Linked DNA regions of Homo sapiens: region 1 is linked to region 2. Evidence: promoter capture Hi-C in 16 types of primary human blood cells and fetal thymus (Javierre and others, 2016). All regions are on one chromosome and are shown on one strand. Each heading gives the region's core, a stretch centred on a gene start or on the middle of the fragment in contact. The rest is flanking DNA. Distances are from core to core; before and after follow the strand shown.

Region 1 (2,867 bases), core at 183-2,682, 130 kb before region 2:
TGATTTTTATAGGATGAAGTTGTGATATGTCCATACGATTCCAATCATCACATGCCTAAATCATCTTTGGCAAAGCACATGGCATCTTGTAGATTGAGGAAAATGGGCTATACCAAAGAAGAAGAGGTACCATATATTTACTATATTATATATACATATATGTCATGCATTTTACACATTAATTCACAATTTTTGGAAGTTACAATGTGAGGTTCACTGACAAAATAATAGCCCTTACTTGAAGGGTTGGTTGGTACTTGCCTAATTGCACAAATTATTGTGAGAAATAATTAAGTGATACTAATCTATTGTTTAGGTCAAGTCTTAAAATAGTCAATTATCTGATACTTAAGAACAGTAAGATTCTTTTTTTTCAGGATGAAATGTATAATCCTGAGTTTTTCTATGAAAATGTGAAGATACCTTCGATTACTTTGAGTAAGTATTAAGTTATTATAATTTAAAAATATCTTAGTGTAGATATTGATTTTTCATTTTTGCATTATGAAAAGAATGGATTGTATAAGCATGCTTATGACAAGGACATTTAGTACCTTAAGAGAATGTAGAATTAATTAATGTACAAGGCAACTAATTCACATAATCTGAAGTTTAGAGACCAGGCTTGTATTAATAGGCAGTGAAAACCTTACAAAGCTTTGTATAGTAGAGCAGACACCTTCTTTCTCAGTTACAACAAAAATTTGAGCATGTGACACAGATTGAAGGATGAGACTGAAGATGGACATGTGTTCCAGGGATTGACAGCATATATAGAGGTTAAAGTCTTGGGCTCTGGAAAAAGAATGTCCTGATTCAACTCCTGTTTTTATCATGAAAGATGTGACTTTCAGCGAGGTAATTAACCTGTTTGTTGCCTAAATTTCTTTATAAAATGGAGATGGTTATAATAGCACTTTGCGAAGATTAAGTGATATATATATATAATATTCTTAGAATAGTGTCAGGCACTTAGCTGGAGTCAGCTAGAGGGTCACAGAGTTGTGACCATTACAGCACAGGCTTCAAGAATGTTAGCTATTATTGGTCAGTAAAATTTGTCGCTGCTACTGCTGCGTGCCTAATTATAGGCATGAACTGCTTGAAGTCTGATTACTTACTGGGCTGTAGATAAATCTGAAAGGATTCTGTGTTCAGATTTCATAGACAGGGATGTGGATGTTTCTTAAGATTCTGGAAGGTTTGTCCACGTGCCCAAAGGGCTTGGATCAGAAACCAGTTAATAATTTAATTGTGGTCACTGATGATTCATATTGTATTTATGGATTTTTTTTTTTTTGACAGATAAGGACTCACAATTCCAGATAATTAAACAAGCTAGAACTGCAGTTGGGAAAGACAGTGATTGTTATAATCAAAGTAAGTGGCATTACAGTTTAAGTGAATTAAAGAATGAAATTATTATTTTTCTCATAAGCATGTTACTAATTTTCTTCAAGAAAAACCTGTGAAAACTGTTACATGGGAAAGGTAAAGTTTTACATTTAACATTGGGCTAATTTGCTTCGTTTCAACTTCATTTGTTAGATATTTCCTGTTGAGATACACCAGAGTCTCACTAAGACACTATCTTAGCTAGGGGTTCATCCTTTGGAATTACCTGGCGATTTATAGGTGAGATTGTCTTGTGGCTAATTAAAAAAATTATTATTTAGTAAATACAGATGGTCCCAACTTAATGATGATTTAATTTAGGATTTTTTCAATTTTATGGTGTTGTGAAAACAATACACAATCACAAGGTTTTAGACTTTAAGTACTAGTGATTCTTTTATCAGACGCTGGGCTGCATTTTCAACTTAACGGTATTTTCAGTTTATGATGGGTTTATCGGGATGTAACCCCATGTAAGTCAAGGAACATCTATAAATGCCACTGAGTGAGGCTCTTTTACTCTTGAGATTTCCTCTCTTTAGAGTGTTGAAATGCAGTGTAAAGAAAAGGCTTAGGCTAAAAGAGATTAGTCTCCACAGCTACCCTCAGATTGCTTGCTACCCAGTAAGTGAGTTGGTTTGAGGTGATGAATGCTTGGGATCCCCTTCTCAGAAAAAAAGTACAAACACAAAAGTTTTACATATAATTTCAGAGGATTCATATTAATAGATCCTTTCATGCCCAGCTTTAGAGCTGGGTTAAAGAGTTTCTCCCTGGGAACCTCAGCAGAGAGTAGGTTAGAAGTTTTAAGCATAAGCTTTTAGGAAATTGAAAGAAAACTTCATCCATCAAAAACATAGACATAGGCCAGACACGGTGGCTCATGCCTGTCATCCCAGCACTTTGGGAGGCCGAGGCAGGTGGATCATCTGAGGTCAGAAGTTCAAGACCACCCTGGCCAACATGGCGAAACCCTGTCTTTACTAAAAAATGCAAAAATTAGCCGGGCATGGTGGCAAGCACCTGTAATCCCAGCTACTCAGGAGACCGAGGCAGGAAGAATTGCTTGAACCCAGGAGGCGGAGGTTTCATTGAGCCAAGATTGCACCATTGCACTCCAGCCTGGGCAACAGAGCGAGACTCCATCTCAAAAAAAAAAACACACATAGACAAACGAGTTAATAAAAGTTTAAATTTCTAATGAATGTAGATATGACATCTAGCCAAAACCTGAACAGCTTCTCTTGTAAGGATTTCTGCATTGTCTTCTTTGAACCTTCTGTAGGTAGCTTTCTCTGGACAACTTACCTTTTTTTCCTCATTCTTTTTTCTAGCTGAATTATATTTACCAGGCTGTAGTCATGGTTGGTTTTCTCCCTCATTGAAATTGAGGATCTTTACCAAATACTGTTCTAAGCCAGTATCTGGACTTGATTTCTCAGAGTTGCTCTATGGCTTCAGAAGAAAGACCA
Region 2 (2,700 bases), core at 100-2,599:
AAGTTTTGTGCCCTGAAATTCATAGCTATCAGATATTTGTAGAAATAAAGACTCTTCTAAATGACCACTTGTGTCTGGGCCAAGGCAGAACTAGAAAGAAGGACTCAGTGGGTAGTTGGAGTCAGTGGTGGTCTCTATTTACCCATGAGAAATAGATTCTTGGAAATAGGATAGGAATGCTTATAAGATTTGGACCAACAGAAAGCCTATGATCTCATAAATTCATGAATCCCACAGTCTATAATCTATTTGACTTCACTCTCAAATGCCTAGGACCATTTGGACTAAGGCTGGCAAGTCAGAAAATTGCAGTTTTTATTTTCAACTCCACACAATTTTCACCAAGTAAAAAACCTTCATGTTTTACGTGAATTTGCTTCTACGATCCATAGATGACTGGATGTTCTCGGGCGGGGTAAAGGCAAATGAATTTGTGTCCTCATTGGCAAATGGTGTTGGTGGTGGTGTTATCTTGTCTAAAATCCACAGGAACCTGTGTTTCAGGACCCTGTCTATTGTCCTGACCATTCAGAATGCATGCCAAGCCCCTGCTCTTCCTGGAGTTATCTTTATCACCTCTCCTCAAGTTTTATCTTGCACCATATAAGTCACATTGTATTTCAATATTAAAATGCAACATTAATAGATAAGCTGGAGAATCAAGACATTTCCAAGAAGACAGGGGACGCCTTTTCTAATATATCGTCTGATTACACCCTCTTTCTTTTGGGTGCTAGCTTAAGAAGCCAAACCAAAGCACAAATGAACAGAGAAGTCAACACATCCGACCCCAAACCCTCAGGACGCTGGCTTGGGTTACATGTGGCCCTCTCTGTGGTCAGTTTGTGAGTAGCCTCCCCGGAGGGTGTGTCCCAACTTCCAGCAGCTGCCGTGGAAAGCCACGTGTCCGCTAAACGCCTACATTACATCAATAAGAGAAACTAAGGAAGGGATGGAAAAGCTATCATTTTTCTTTTCTTCCTCAGTTCTGGCAGTATAGTGATTTAATCGCTGTTATTATTTTTATTTAGTTAAAGCATCAACTTAGGCCTTTTAAATGATGGTAAAAGAGAAAGCTTCAGATCGGGGTATTGGTCAGATCATTCTTACTAGCGATGACCTCTTCGCCTTTGGCACCTCGCGGCTCTTCGCATGCCTCCAAGAATTCCCGGGTCTTGAAACCTACGCGCGGCGGAGGCGACGCCTCTCGGGAGAGGGAGGGTGAAAGAAGGGGCGGGGCTATTTAAATAGCCCGCGAGCTTCGCGTCCCCATTGGCTGCCAGCCTGTCGGTTACCGCGGGGCGGGGAGTCCCGGGGCTGGAGTGAGGTACCTGAGCCGGGCGCGCAGCAGAAAGCCCACGTTGGCCGCTGCGGGGAGCGCGGCGTGGAGAGGCGGGAGACCGAATTCCGGCGCCGCCGCCGCGGCCGCTGCTCGGTGCACTAGCCCCCTTCCTTCCCATCCTTTCTGCGAGCGGGTTTGCTGGGCAGCCGGGCGACCGCCGAACGGAAAGCAAGATCCTCGCCGCCTCCGCTTGAGGAGGCGTGCGGCGCGCGGAGATTTTGAGTGGGAGCGACGGTGCCCGAGAGCTCAGGGGCGCGGAGTTCGTGAGCGAGAAGGAAGTTAAACCTCGCGGAATAGACTGGCATTTCGGGACGCCTTGTCGCCGCAGCCTGGGCCCTGCAACGGGGTAAACTTCATGGTGGCCCTGCGATCTGGGGAGGGGCGTGCGCCACGGTGATGCCGGGCATCTCCCGCAGCTCGTGAGCGGCCCCGCTCCCCGCTGCCCCGGGTCCCACTCAGTCGCCAGGGAGAGCGCGGGGCAGCGCACGTGTGCGGCCAGCGAGGCCCAGAGTGACCGCGCCGCGACTCGCAGGAGCCAGGGCGCAGGCTGCAGTGCAGCCCGGACTCAGACGCACCTGGCCTGGACCGCGCGCCTCTAGAGACCTGCGCGAGGCTGTGAGGCTCCCCTTCCTCCCCTCCAAGCGGTTCTCCTGGTGATCGCCCCTTCGCCACCTCTCTAGCCTGGGCAACTGGGGGCGCCCCGGACGACCATGAGAGATAAGGACTGAGGGCCAGGAAGGGGAAGCGAGCCCGCCGAGAGGTGGCGGGGACTGCTCACGCCAAGGGCCACAGCGGCCGCGCTCCGGCCTCGCTCCGCCGCTCCACGCCTCGCGGGATCCGCGGGGGCAGCCCGGCCGGGCGGGGATGCCGGGGCTGGGGCGGAGGGCGCAGTGGCTGTGCTGGTGGTGGGGGCTGCTGTGCAGCTGCTGCGGGCCCCCGCCGCTGCGGCCGCCCTTGCCCGCTGCCGCGGCCGCCGCCGCCGGGGGGCAGCTGCTGGGGGACGGCGGGAGCCCCGGCCGCACGGAGCAGCCGCCGCCGTCGCCGCAGTCCTCCTCGGGCTTCCTGTACCGGCGGCTCAAGACGCAGGAGAAGCGGGAGATGCAGAAGGAGATCTTGTCGGTGCTGGGGCTCCCGCACCGGCCCCGGCCCCTGCACGGCCTCCAACAGCCGCAGCCCCCGGCGCTCCGGCAGCAGGAGGAGCAGCAGCAGCAGCAGCAGCTGCCTCGCGGAGAGCCCCCTCCCGGGCGACTGAAGTCCGCGCCCCTCTTCATGCTGGATCTGTACAACGCCCTGTCCGCCGACAACGACGAGGACGGGGCGTCGGAGGGGGAGAGGCAGCAGTCCTGGCCCCACGAAGC

The links. Contacts are between HindIII fragments. The CHiCAGO score rates a contact against its expected background, and 5 or more counts as called.
Region 1: a fragment that was not itself captured here is called in contact with the fragment with the promoter of BMP6 in region 2 in 1 of 17 cell types (neutrophils); the score reaches 6.1 in neutrophils.

The regions. Positions count from the first base shown.
Region 1 is chr6:7,593,722-7,596,588 of GRCh38, forward strand. It overlaps SNRNP48 (small nuclear ribonucleoprotein U11/U12 subunit 48), which reads left to right. Exons shown (of 9, transcript NM_152551.4): 2 at 13-126; 3 at 378-438; 4 at 1,306-1,380. Among named protein-coding and RNA genes, the nearest start is that of SNRNP48, 5.0 kb to the left of the region's middle. The HindIII fragment of the contact is 1,555 bases long and covers 656-2,210 here.
Region 2 is chr6:7,724,750-7,727,449 of GRCh38, forward strand. BMP6 (bone morphogenetic protein 6) reads left to right here and starts at 1,350. Exons shown (of 7, transcript NM_001718.6): 1 at 1,350-2,700. The coding sequence starts at 2,207. The HindIII fragment of the contact is 3,909 bases long and covers 1,075-2,700 here.